Linked DNA regions of Homo sapiens: regions 1, 2 and 4 are each linked to region 3. Evidence: promoter capture Hi-C in 16 types of primary human blood cells and fetal thymus (Javierre and others, 2016). All regions are on one chromosome and are shown on one strand. Each heading gives the region's core, a stretch centred on a gene start or on the middle of the fragment in contact. The rest is flanking DNA. Distances are from core to core; before and after follow the strand shown. Region 1 holds the start of CDC20B (cell division cycle 20B). Region 2 overlaps ARL15 (ARF like GTPase 15). Region 3 holds the start of PLK2 (polo like kinase 2). Region 4 holds the start of DHX29 (DExH-box helicase 29).

The links. Contacts are between HindIII fragments. The CHiCAGO score rates a contact against its expected background, and 5 or more counts as called.
Region 1: a contact is called between a fragment that was not itself captured here and the fragment with the promoter of PLK2 in region 3, in 1 of 17 cell types (total B cells). The highest score is 6.2, in total B cells.
Region 2: a fragment that was not itself captured here is called in contact with the fragment with the promoter of PLK2 in region 3 in 1 of 17 cell types (naive CD4 T cells); the score reaches 5.5 in naive CD4 T cells.
Region 4: the fragment with the promoter of DHX29 here is called in contact with the fragment with the promoter of PLK2 in region 3 in 1 of 17 cell types (total B cells); the score reaches 7.0 in total B cells.

What each region holds. Positions count from the first base shown.
Region 1 is chr5:55,172,768-55,176,188 of GRCh38, reverse strand. CDC20B (cell division cycle 20B) reads left to right here and starts at 3,012. Exons shown (of 12, transcript NM_001170402.1): 1 at 3,012-3,251. The coding sequence starts at 3,189. RefSeq lists silencers at 2,577-2,906, 2,994-3,288. The HindIII fragment of the contact is 2,609 bases long and covers 196-2,804 here.
Region 2 is chr5:54,304,466-54,307,553 of GRCh38, reverse strand. All of the region lies in intron 1 of ARL15 (ARF like GTPase 15), which reads left to right. Among named protein-coding and RNA genes, the nearest start is that of ARL15, 4.6 kb to the left of the region's middle. RefSeq lists an enhancer at 2,219-2,882. The HindIII fragment of the contact is 5,398 bases long and covers 1-3,088 here.
Region 3 is chr5:58,458,836-58,461,929 of GRCh38, reverse strand. It overlaps PLK2 (polo like kinase 2), which reads left to right and starts at 1,844. Exons shown (of 14, transcript NM_006622.4): 1 at 1,844-2,240; 2 at 2,838-2,945; 3 at 3,089-3,094. The coding sequence starts at 1,971. RefSeq lists a silencer at 1,347-1,526. The HindIII fragment of the contact is 4,873 bases long and covers 505-3,094 here.
Region 4 is chr5:55,306,050-55,309,135 of GRCh38, reverse strand. DHX29 (DExH-box helicase 29) reads left to right here and starts at 1,442. Exons shown (of 27, transcript NM_019030.4): 1 at 1,442-1,749. The coding sequence starts at 1,563. MTREX (Mtr4 exosome RNA helicase) reads right to left here and starts at 1,147. Exons shown (of 27, transcript NM_015360.5): 1 at 989-1,147. The coding sequence starts at 1,122. LOC124900979 (a long non-coding RNA gene) reads left to right here. Exons shown (of 2, transcript XR_007058774.1): 2 at 699-987. RefSeq lists enhancers at 894-1,373, 1,514-1,773. The HindIII fragment of the contact is 7,705 bases long and covers 1-3,086 here.

The sequences.
Region 1 (3,421 bases), core at 251-2,750, 3.3 Mb after region 3:
GCATATGCCGCTGAAGCGAGCCCATGTATATGGCATATTTTTGAGATATTTAACATTCTTGATGTTTAGAATGAAAGTGTAATTGAAAAAAAAAAGAGATCGCATTTGGGAAGCTTGAATATCCTCTTGCTTCCCATTGATAGGGACCTACTGAGATTCTCAGAGCACCGGCGACTTTGAGAGTTAAGGGAAGCTTTTCCAAATTCTTTCTCTCCCTTCCTCCACTAGTCCACCTCCCCTCGCTCCTGTCGCCTTTCTTTCCTCAAAATCCTTCTTATTGGCCTTTGTCCAGGAGTCTTCCTCACAGCCTTTCTCATTGTCACATCCTCCCTGCAAAACCCATTCTCAAAGAGGAAACATTTGAAAGATAGTAAAGCTACTCTTAGGCGCATAAATATTTGAATTGGACATTGTTCCTAAACCATATTTGATAAAAATTAAGATAATATGTTTACAGGATGTTTCTGTTTTCCCCAAACAGTCTTACCAAAGTGCTTTTTAATAGAATGACCACATGATGTTAAATATTTTTCATTTTGAAATAATTTCAGGCTTAGAAAAAAGTTACAAAAATGGTACAAATAATTCCATTATATCCTTCACTCAGCGTTCACAAATCTTAACATTTTATATAGCTATAGTACAATAATCATAACTAGGAAATCAGCATTACTACTACTCTATTAACTAATCTGCAGATATGGATCAATTCAAATTTCTACAGTTATCTAACCAATATCTTCTTTTTTGTGGTCCAGGATTCAATCCAGGACCTCGCAATGCATTTGGTTGGCATGTCTTGTTTCTTTTAATCTGTGACAGTTTCTTACTCTTTCTTTATTGATGACTATGATACTTTTGAAAAGTACTGGCCAATTTTGTGGAAAGTCTTTTAATTTGGGTTTGTCTAGTATTTTCTCACTATTAAGGTTATGCATTTTGTGGGGCAAAAATATCACAGAAGTGATGTGTCCTTCTCATGAGGCACAGTATGTCAACATGTCTCACTAATGGTGATGTTAACTTTGATCACTTGGTTAAGGTGGTCTCTGCCAGTTTTGGCCAGTGAAAAGTTGTGATTTTATTTTTTGTGTTTAATTATAGGGGGAAGTATTCTCATCATATGCAAGGTAATTTTAGTATTCTTGACAGTTATTACTGTAATATTTGCCAAGTGGCGAGTTTCTGTTTCCATCATTCTGAAGTTAAGTTTTAATCTGAATATTCAACTGCATAATTACTTCCTAAAGATATTTGACTAATACTTTCTCTACTTCACACTAGGGGAAAAAAAGACATTTGGAGGCTGTGTATATGTATGCTGTGGAATTAATGGCTATAATGGAATTTATAAATGTATTTTTACAGATAATTGCATTCTAAATGAATGATTCACTATTCTTAGTACTTGTAAGAAATTGGATTCTAAAAATCCCAATTTACATGGATTTATGAGCTTATTAGTTGAATTGCTTTTATTCTGTGTTTATACAAAATGGTTAAATGTAAACTATATTTAAAAATAGAACAAAGATAATATGTCCTTCATATTATTTCCAATATACTTTGAGTTTTAGTTGGCATTTGCAAAACTGATCATTTAAATTAACAATGCATCTGACTCTCATCCAATAATAGTTTACTTTTATTTAGTCTTAATGTTTGCTGAAAGATTTACTGGAATTTGGAATGAGTACTCCACTGCAAGGAAAATAGACTTCTTGTGGGTGAAACTTAGAGATCTTTTAATCCACTAGTTATTTGACTATCAAACATTTTGATATATGTCATTTGAAGATTAAGTTACCCTATGCAGCATTATTATTGTACATAGAAAACTGGTCTAAGATTGGGTCTTAGTTCTAATGCCATTTTTTCTTGCTTTCAGTATGAAGGAAAGCAGGGGAGTGAGTTTTAGGTTTTTTTTTTTTTTTTTTTTTGGATCACTGACCCTTTTGAGTATCTGCTATCTATGAACTGTTTCCCCAGAAAAACACACAAACTCACATTGCCTTAGAGCAAAATACAATCCAATGTCAAAAATGGTTGGGGGGTTAGCAAGGGAGGGACAAACAGGCTGCCAGGCTGTCAGAGGCTTCCCAGATGCAGTGTCCCCTCCTGCCATATGGCACAACTCGGCTCTCTTGGCAGCTCAGATGGGCAGCTAAGGCTGCACAGCCCATCTGGTTCCCTGTCATTTCCCGCCAGACCTCTTCCTCAACCCTCAATATCTTCCTCTCCCCCTTTATCACGGAGTCCCCAGTGTGCTCAGCTTTCTGGCCCCCTCTTCACGCCTTATGAGGTCCTGCCTGTCACTGGTTCTTTCACTACCTCTTCACCTCTCTCACCTACCCCCTGCTAAGGAACAGGGCTCAGAAGCCCGAGTGAGAGGACCTGACTACTCCCAATGTATAGAGCAGGGAATAATTTATTGCATAAATATGTCAACGCTCTCCCTTTTGATCGGCATAGAAATCTTGCCACGTTTTCTTGCCTTCTGAAAACGAAGAGCTGACGAACACGCCTCACATCTATAGCTGACACAGCGATTACCAACGGACAGAGGCCGGAGAGCTGTGCACGCTCGGATCCTGCAAAGGCAGGGTGTGGTTGGAGAAAGAGAAGTGGGTGCAGAGGAACAGGGATCAGGGCCGTTATAAGGAAACATTCTTGTTTCTGAAAATGGAAAGATCGTGAACTCCCAGAACCCGCTTCTTCGCCCGCCAACCCCTCCGCCTCCTGCCGCGGTGGCAGCCCCCGGCGCCAGGCCCAGCCGCAGGCCCGCCACGGCTCGCGGCAAAGCTTGGCGCCCGGGTGCGCGCCTCGGCCGGAGGCGGTGGCGGGGCGGGGCCCAGAGAGGGCCGGCAGGGGCGGGGCCGCGGCGCGCGCCGGGGAATCCCACCCGGGCTCTGACGACACCGCGGCGCCGGCCAATAAGAAGCCGGCGAGGGGGATTCCCGCGCCGACTGCCGCCCCGCCGGCTTTTTAAATGGTACCCTGGGGAACACCTTGCAGCGGCGGTGGGAGGAGTGGGGGACCTGGAGGGAGGTGGTGAAATAGAATGGTCCTGGGGGACGGGACTCCAGGGGTTTGACGATTAGGCGTCAAGACTGACTTAGACCTGGGAAGAAAACCAGAGGCAGTCGAGCAGAGAGGCCAAACGCCAGGCAGGGCGAAGTCAGCCGGAGATGGAGTGGAAACTGGAGCGCACCGCGCCTCGGAGGGTCCGCACGGAAGAGGAGATGCTGTGGGTGAGTAACACCCTTTTCTGCATTCTCCCTAACTCTCTAATGCGGGGCCGAAGGCCCCGTTCATAATATCTGTTTAGGACCAAGAGGTGGTACGAAACTCTAAGCCCTGGTCGTAAATTTGAGTGATGTAATTTAGTTATATTCTGAAGGTGCCTAGTTGCCAAAAAAAA
Region 2 (3,088 bases), core at 560-3,059, 4.2 Mb after region 3:
GACAGTCAAGGTGAGGGACAGGGATAGTACTTTAATATTTAAGACAGGGTTTTATTGATTTCAGTCGAGAGAAAGAATAGAAATTTGCTAATCCTAATCAATTAGATGTATCACCTGGTGCGGTGCCTGACTTGGTTTCTGGCATGTATTAATAGTTAGGGCCCGATATTTTATTTGTTGAATCAGATGAATATGAAATGGAAAGGAAAATTCTGCTTTTTTTCACCAGTTTTTAAACTGAGACAAGATAAAATCTGTTTGGATTAGGTGTTTTGTTCAGGGGAATGCAGAATGTATCCTTTACTCTTAACTTGAAGATGATCAAGATATAATCCTTTTAGCCAGGGTGGCAATTTAAACATAAAAATCTCTGTTTTCCAGTTGATGAGTGAATCTTCCTAGAAGGGCACACAACTTTTCCCCTTTCCATGATGGGGTTTAAAGGCCATGTTTACATCTGCCAAGTCTCTGGGTAAACATTTAGCTGCTGTCCCAACAGGCAGTACCAGCATCTTACTCTTTCTTCTCATAGGTAGAACTAGTAACACAATGTGCAGAGCTTTTTGGATAAGGTAGGAGAAAATAGTCAGGTTAAAATGAAAGAGAAAAACACATTTCTCGAGTTTTCCTGGGAGGTTGGACAAGATCAACTTCTAGATTCCTTTCAGTTCAAAATTTTCTGTCTTGACTCATGTGATGATTGATCTGGAATTAACCTTTTTTCCCTCTGCGCCATCAAAACAACAGTGGTAGAATTGGTTGTACTCTGTGTAATACCTATGATGATTAAATGAGATAGTGGAGGGAAAGCCATTTGTAAACAGTACGTTGCTTTTCAAATATAAAATGTTAACGTATTGTGTGGCTGGGCGAGGTGGCTCACGCCCGTAATCCCAGGACTTTGGGAGGGCAAGACAGGCGGATCACTTGAGGTCAGGAGTTTGAGACCAGCCTGGCTGACATGGAGAAACCCCATCTCCACTTAAAATAGAAAAATTAGCTGGGTGTCGTGGCGCATGCCTGTAATCTCAGCTACTTGGGAGGCTGAGGCAGGAGAATCGCTTGAACCCAGGAGGCAGAGGTTGCAGTGAGATCGCACAACTGCACTCCAGCCTGGGCGACAGAGTGAGACTCCGTCTCAAGACAAAAAAAAAAAAAAAAAGTTAACGTATTGTGATTATGTTGCTGATGTTACTTTTATACCTCCTGTAGAATGACTGTTACTGCTTAGTGGTATTGAAATACCTTTTAAACTAGTCTCAATTTATGGAAATACTGGGAGTTGTAATCAACAAGCAGGAAGTCACAAGACTCTTTTAAGAATCTTTTAAAAGCTACGAAAATAAAACCCATTTGAATAATTTATCTATTCAACAAATATTTATGGAGCCCTTACTTTCTGCATGGCCCTGAAAGTCATGCGGGATGAACCCTCAGCTGTAATATCCTCCTTGACTGCAGGACTGGCAGTCGTGTGGCTCTAGAGGAACCTGTGGCAGGACAGGTTAAGTAAGGCACATAGGGGAGGGGGTAGCTTCTGATGTGCTTCTTTGCTTTCTAGTACATTTCTCTCATTTTGTGTGTTTTATTGTGAACTAAAATATAAACTTAGACTTGAAAATGTGACAAGTAAAAATGGTTGATTAGTCTTGGATGCTAATTGTCAATTAATATTCATTGCATTTGTTTATAGTAGCCTCCACCCTCCCATCCACGGTTTTACTTTTCAAGGTTTCAGTTAACCATGGTCCACCGAGGTCTCAAAATAAGTGAGTAAAGTACAATAAGATATTTTAAGAGAGAGAGAGACCACATTCATATAACTTTTATTACTGTATATTGTTATCATTGTTCACTTTTATTATTAGTTATTATTAATCACTTACTATGCCTAATTTACACATTAAACTTTATCATAGGTGTGTGTGTATAGGAAAAAATATAGTGTGCTCTGTGCTATGTTAGTTAGTTCTATGATAGCTCAGTACTATCTGTGGTTTTAGGTATCCACTGGGACTTGGAATATATCCCCCATGGATGAGGGGAAACTACTGTACCGTGTTGGGGATTTTTTATTTATTTATTTTTTTTTTGTGACAGAGTTTTGCTCTTGTCATGCAGGCTGGAGTGCAATGGGGTGATTCTCCTGTCTCAGCCTCCTAAGTAGCTGGGATTACAGGTGCCCACCACCATGCCCAGCTAATTTTTGTATGTTTAGTAGAGACGGGGTTTCACCATGTTGGCCAGGCTGGTCTCAAACTCCTGACCTCAGGTGATCCACCTGCCTCGACCTCCCAAAGTGCTGGGATTACAGGAGTGAGCCACCGTGCCCTGCCAGTGTTTGGGATTTAATAAGATTAGATTTGATAGGTTAGTTTAATAAGATTTCTTTGTATAGACTGGTGGACTTGACCTATTTAGTTTCTTGGTTATAGGCTGTATCTGCCATCATAAAAATGTATGTCTCAGTGGGGAAGATGTGGTGAGAGAATTGGGTTGATCATCACAAATCTGTCACCATTTGCAGGATAAAAACCAGCTAACTAACCAACAATAGAAACCCATGATGTGCTACAAAGGGTAGAGCCCACAGGCACTATGAAATTGTAAAGGATCCTACTTGAAAAGAGGAGTGAAGGTACATTTGTGATTTCATATTATGTTCAGTTATCTGTGAACTGAACTTCTTTATTGATAAAAAAAAAAGTACATTGTTTCGTTGTTTTTAACCCTGAATATCTATGAACATTGTAAGTTGTATTTATTGTGACTAACTTTAAAGTGATAATGTAGGTCACTTTTTAGTCTAAATGTCGAGTGGATTAGGCAGTCATATTAAATATTCCTTTCTTAATAATTTATAAGATAAAAATTATCTGAGCACAATAAACAGATCTACCATATATGGAGTTCATATAGCAAAAATGTTTTGAGCAAATCCGTACCATTAGGTAGGAACTTTTCTACAAAGGTGTTAAGTCTGGTTCCCAAACTTCTGTGGCTCCAGTCTAACAGTATGAGCCCTAGGAGAGGACACATAGGGACCTTGATTCATGCCCTCCAGGGGCTTGCATTCTGAAAGATGCCA
Region 3 (3,094 bases), core at 595-3,094:
CGATGATCTAGTAAAAATATACAATAATTACCTAAGTTCTCCAAGCCTCATCTATAAAATGGGAATAATAATGTAGGAGATGAGAATATGCCACCCCAAATATGGCCCTGGGATAAAGATTATTTTAAGATAATTATTTTGAGAACCAGCAGACCCAGGAAATGCTCTAAAAATGGCATATTACCCTTTCGTAAGGGAAACGTACATTCACTAAAAAAAAAAACAACAAAAACAAAAAACAAAAAAACCCCACAAAACTCCATTTGTAAAAGTGTCTCCTCTGTACCAGGAAGAATGACTCTAAATCATGAAAAACTTATCAATGAAGAAATAAGAAACCCCACTCCTGTTTACCGTACATTTCCTGGTCATGATTCCTTAACTTGCCTGCCCCACTCTTTTCTTTTGGTTTAGCTAAAGATAGTATTTAAGCCCGATTTTAAACCATCTCTAATTTTCCTGGTTATCTCCCATGTATATATGAGACGTATATGTTAATAAGCTTCTTTGTTTTCTTGTTAATCTGTCTGGTTACAGCGACCCAGGCCAAAACTTTGAAAGGTGGAAAATTATTTTTCCTTCCTTACAATATTTCTCTCAGAATTGTTGTAGGATGAAATAAGGCATTTAAAAATACTGCACAGTCCTCAATAAATGTTACTCTATCGTAATTAGAACAAGAAAAACAAACAAAAAAACGTGTTCCTAGATTAGTCAAACTGCACAGCAAAATCTGGAAATGGGAAACTAAGCTGTGTTTGCACTCACTGGCCTACGCTCCTCTCTTCATCCTACCAATCTCCCTACCCCAGAAAGTCTCAGATTGACTCTCCAGGAACCAGGGCAGCTCATGAGCCATCTCAACAGATGCATTCGGAAGAAGTCATAGATGACTCTGATTGGAAACTCACAATCGGCATCGATGTTTAGTACTAGTAACTGTCAAAGGCCCACGGTTGTCAACCGCTGCCCACTTCGACACCTAACGGCATTCCGGAACATTCCACAAGATGGCGCCCTTGCTTTCCAATCTTCGGGCTACGGGCGGAGGACGCCTTGCCAGGACGCCGACCTCGCTCTGCAAGGTTCAGGGGCCGACCTCAGACAGAGGCTCGCTCTAGGGGCATGGGCGGGGGCCAGACGGGCCTCGAGTGGGATCCTGGCACGGTTGGCCGATCGGCCCGGGATCCCGGCTGCGGGCCCGTGTCTGCCCTAGCGCGATGGGCTCGAATGCCCGGCTCCACGAATCCCGGCCTTTCACCCCCACGGCCTCTCGGCACTGCCCCAGCTAGACACCAGCGAGCTCGTCACAGCGCGGGCAGGCACTGCGGGGCAGCTGCAGACGAGCCCTGTCATACGGCCGGAGGAGGCCTCGCCTGCCCGTGCGGCGGGCTCCGGGCACCCTGATACCTTGACACAGGAGGCCCCGGGCGGCCGGGAAGGGCTGTGCGGGGGAGGGACTGCGTCTACACCCGCGCCCGACTCGCTCGGGTCACGGCACTGCCCTGCCACCAGGCGGCTGGGGCGGGGGTGAGGCCAGGCGTCGGCCCTCGCGATTCTGTTTTGTACGCTGAGGCTCGGAGCCTTCGAAGAACGGGACAGCGGGGCCCACGGACGGCTCTGAAGGCCTTCCCGCGGCCGCAAGAGATCTCGGCGGCCGGCGTTTGAGGCGCGCGGCTCCGCTGGGAAGCGAGACCCGGGTGGCGGGACAAGACTTGCTTCCCGGCCACGCGCGCTCGGCCGGCCGTGGGGCGGGGCATAGGCCGTGACGTGATGTCGCGTATCGAGTCTCCGCCCCCTTCCCGCCTCCCCGTATATAAGACTTCGCCGAGCGCTCTCACTCGCACAAGTGGACCGGGGTGTTGGGTGCTAGTCGGCACCAGAGGCAAGGGTGCGAGGACCACGGCCGGCTCGGACGTGTGACCGCGCCTAGGGGGTGGCAGCGGGCAGTGCGGGGCGGCAAGGCGACCATGGAGCTTTTGCGGACTATCACCTACCAGCCAGCCGCCAGCACCAAAATGTGCGAGCAGGCGCTGGGCAAGGGTTGCGGAGCGGACTCGAAGAAGAAGCGGCCGCCGCAGCCCCCCGAGGAATCGCAGCCACCTCAGTCCCAGGCGCAAGTGCCCCCGGCGGCCCCTCACCACCATCACCACCATTCGCACTCGGGGCCGGAGATCTCGCGGATTATCGTCGACCCCACGACTGGGAAGCGCTACTGCCGGGGCAAAGTGCTGGGAAAGGTGACAAGCGGAGGGCGCCGGGCTGCCGGGCGGGCGGGAGGTCTGTCCGGGCGACCCCAAGCCGGGCAAGCCCGCGGGGTCCCTCGCCCGCCGCTTCCGGGTTTTTCGGGGGTCCGATCCCAGCGCGAGGTGGGCTCCTCACCTGCCCTCTGGCTTTTGTGCGCCGGCAGCGCTGGGGATCGGCTTTGCATTCTTAGCCTCAGAACTGTGTGTCTCCCGCAGCCCAGAGAAATGCATCTTGAGTCTGGAAGCGAGGGCTTTCTACATCAGACCTCTCTCCCTCTATCTGCTCCCAGGGAATTTTCCTGACAAGTCTCATCAGAGATTATTTTTCATGTCTCCCCGTTCCAACTCCCTCCATAAAGCTCCCCTTTATAAAAGAAGAAGAGAAACTGTTTGAACTTGCTGTTTCCAGCAATGCATTTCTCTTCATGAGGGAGCTTTAACGAAGTCGAATGCCTCCCTCTGTCCACCCTCCTCCATTCCTCAATTTTTTTTTTTTTGCTTTTCTTTCTTCCCATTTATTTATTTATTTAAAATATCTGCCGTCCATTTTTGTGCCATCCTCAATTCCGTCTCGGCTTTGTTTCCTTTCAGGGTGGCTTTGCAAAATGTTACGAGATGACAGATTTGACAAATAACAAAGTCTACGCCGCAAAAATTATTCCTCACAGCAGAGTAGCTAAACCTCATCAAAGGGAAAAGGTGCGTATGACTCTTGAGTAAAGTATTTTCTTTGTGTGCAAGGATGGCCCTTCCCTGTTAGGAAAATGTCTTCTGCATGTGTAATCACTGGCTTTTCCGAGGTGACTGGAAGCTAATAAGCCTTACCTTGCTTTTTCATTTAGATTGAC
Region 4 (3,086 bases), core at 193-2,692, 3.2 Mb after region 3:
ACAATTTCCTTAACTCAGAATATTCTCTTGTATATAAATAAGCCTTCCTGAAAGTCAGAAATAGGATCTCCCTTTCTTGAACTTTTATAACACTTAATTGTATATATCATTCATTTTAAGTTAACGACCTCCTCACCTATACTGTAACTCTTTAATGGGTACCTGTTCTCTTTCCCTACACCGAAAATTCCTTGAGAGCAAAATCATGTCTAATTTAATTTCAAGCATCTATTGGGTATCTGGCCCCACAATGCCAAGAGTATATTTTGTTGATTGTTAATTAATCATCTTACTTTATTTAATACAAGTAATAGCTTTTCCTTGTTCTACTATAAACAGATCTGTACACTTTCTGGTGGCTGTATGCACCAGTCTAAACATATGGGTAGGGTCCAGTAATTTTTAAATTTTTTCTCAATAAACTCACGATAGCTACCATTTATTAGTGATAGCTAGCTAACCACTGTTAGGCACTTTACACGTGTATCTCATTGAATCCTCATATCCACCAGTGGTAGGCACTATTATCTCCATTTTACGGAAGAGAAAACTACTACATCTTGGAGATTAAATGTCTCTCCCTTCTCATGTTATTATCTGCCCTTTCCCCTCCAAATCAATTCATATCATTTTTTCTAAACCTTTTCACCTTTTACTCAACTAATCATTCGTTTTGTTTATTAACGACTATGTGCCAGGTGTTGTGCTGATGCAGGAGACAACCGCGAAGATGGGGACAGAATCAGTAACATCGACGTAAGGGAATTGAAGCAGAAGATCACGCTGCCTGCAGACACCAGGAAACGCCAAGACCCCCCTTCCACGAACCAACATTCTTCCACCCTCTCCAACTTTTTTCTGGAACCCCTTCACTTCCAACGCCACTCAATGTACACTTCACTTTCTCGTGCTCTTCCTAAGAGAGTAGTGTTTTCTTCCTCCCCACCGAGAAAAAAAATAAAAGCAACAACTGGAACTTCTTCCTTACCCTGCCTTGTCTGCAGACCCTGGAGGCCCCTTCCATTTCCCCTTGTCCTTTTCCTTGTCTTTTTTGGTTCCCGCCGCAGTGGTCGAGTCGCCCTCGAACACGCTGAACAGCTCATCTCCGAATGCGTCCGCCATTTTTGGGAGCAGTGAGAGCAAATCTCCCTCCTACCCACGATGCCCCGCGACCGAAGACAGTGACGTCTCGTGAAGGCTCAACAGTGGCCCGCAGGAGACAAAAGTAGTCGAGTCGCGCAGCCGACAAAAATGTTCCCCTGACTTTTTTTTTTTTTCCTGCTTTTCTTTCCTTTCCTTTCCGACCTAAAGTGGATAAGCTGCTCAGTGGATAAAGAGCGAGGGCGGCGCGTGGCGCCTGGCGTGTGGCAGGCAGCTGGCGACTCAAGGAGGCGGAGCCTGCTGAATTCGACCAATTGCGAGGCAGCGGTCGCCCCGGCCCGAGAAGCCCGGATCGAAGCGCAGGGTGGCAGCCCCGGAGCCGGGGAATGTGAAGAGCTCTCGGCTGTGCAGTGGTACCGTCGGGGCCTGGGCCGCGAAGGATCTTCTGCCACAGCTGCAACATGGGCGGCAAGAACAAGAAACACAAGGCTCCAGCGGCCGCGGTGGTCCGGGCCGCCGTGTCTGCTTCCAGAGCCAAATCTGCCGAGGCTGGAATTGCCGGGGAGGCCCAAAGCAAGAAGCCAGTGTCCAGGCCGGCCACCGCTGCCGCTGCCGCTGCCGGCTCCAGGGAGCCCCGTGTCAAGCAAGGTACGAGAGGTCCCCCAGCCCCTGGCTGTCTGCCCTGAGACCTTGCTGCTTGTCCTGAGGAAAGGGCCTTAGAACCCGGGAGGAGCTTCGGGCCCAACATTTCTATTTCCCAACACTCGAGCTGCTACCTCCCCATGGGGTGGCCTTGTTTTAGATTAAAAAAGTCTAAGCTCTTTGGGCCTCCAAAATTCTGACAGTAGCCCTGTTGCAGCCTGGCATTTCTCTTTTAACTCACACTTCTCCCCCTTCTAAAAACAAAATAATTGCATTAGCTCCTGTTTCAGCAGGAATTCATCCTGAGCACCATCTCAGCTAGCTAGGCTAACGCAAAGACGAGTACTGAGTGGAGTTCCTGACCTCCTGGTGCCAGCCAGCCCCATTTTCTGTCAGTTTTTCATATCATTTTCAGCAACAATCTAGTGTCTCCATGCGTTCTGGAAAAATCAATACTTAATAAAAATTACAGGACTTACACACTGGTTACACACTGGTTACGTGTAATCTATTGTAAAATTGTCTGCCCTCGTTTCTGCCGCCATGCAGTTTTGCTTACTGTACAAATTGATTTGACAACTCAACTTATAGATGGCCGATTCCTGCTGCAGATGAGCAGGCCACATATTACGGTTGAGCTCAAAAGATGAACAATTACATTCTGTTGTGTTCTTCTCGGGTTGTTTGCTTGTACTTATTGGAGTATTCAAGAAATATTTGCTGAGCATTTATGTGTATATATGCAAATATTTAGTATGTGTCTGATAAGATGTGAGGAATGTGATGAGCAAAAAGAGACATCACCTCATGGAGCTTGCCAGTCTAATGTCAGAGATAGGTATTAACTAATAGGTAACGCACACAGACATATTTATAGCCTTATAATAGATAAGTGCCACAAAGAAAAGCCAGGGAAGACAGTTTAACAGGGTAATCTAATTTTTCTCGGGATGAGCAGGTATCATGGATGGTGTCTGGAAATGTAACAGTTAAGCTGAGATGAGGAGAATGAAAAAGGAGTTAACTCTGTGAAGCATGGCAGAAATTAGTATTCCAGGCGGGCGTAATGAACATCATGTGTAAAAAGTTTGAGTCAGGAAAGAGCTTGGGGCTCTTGAGGAATTCACAGAACATAAAGCATCGCCAAAGGATGAAATGAGATGAGACTGAAAAAGTAGGCAGGTACCAGACCTTTACCTAGAAGGTGGAAACAGTTCTTTGCCCTGCGATTTATTGTAGTGTTAGCTACAGAGTTAGCATACTTGTAATTACAAATACATAGAATTTCTCCCTGACAACTATGGCAGTTTTATTCTGTGGATCAGCCTCTTTTTTACTTTTCC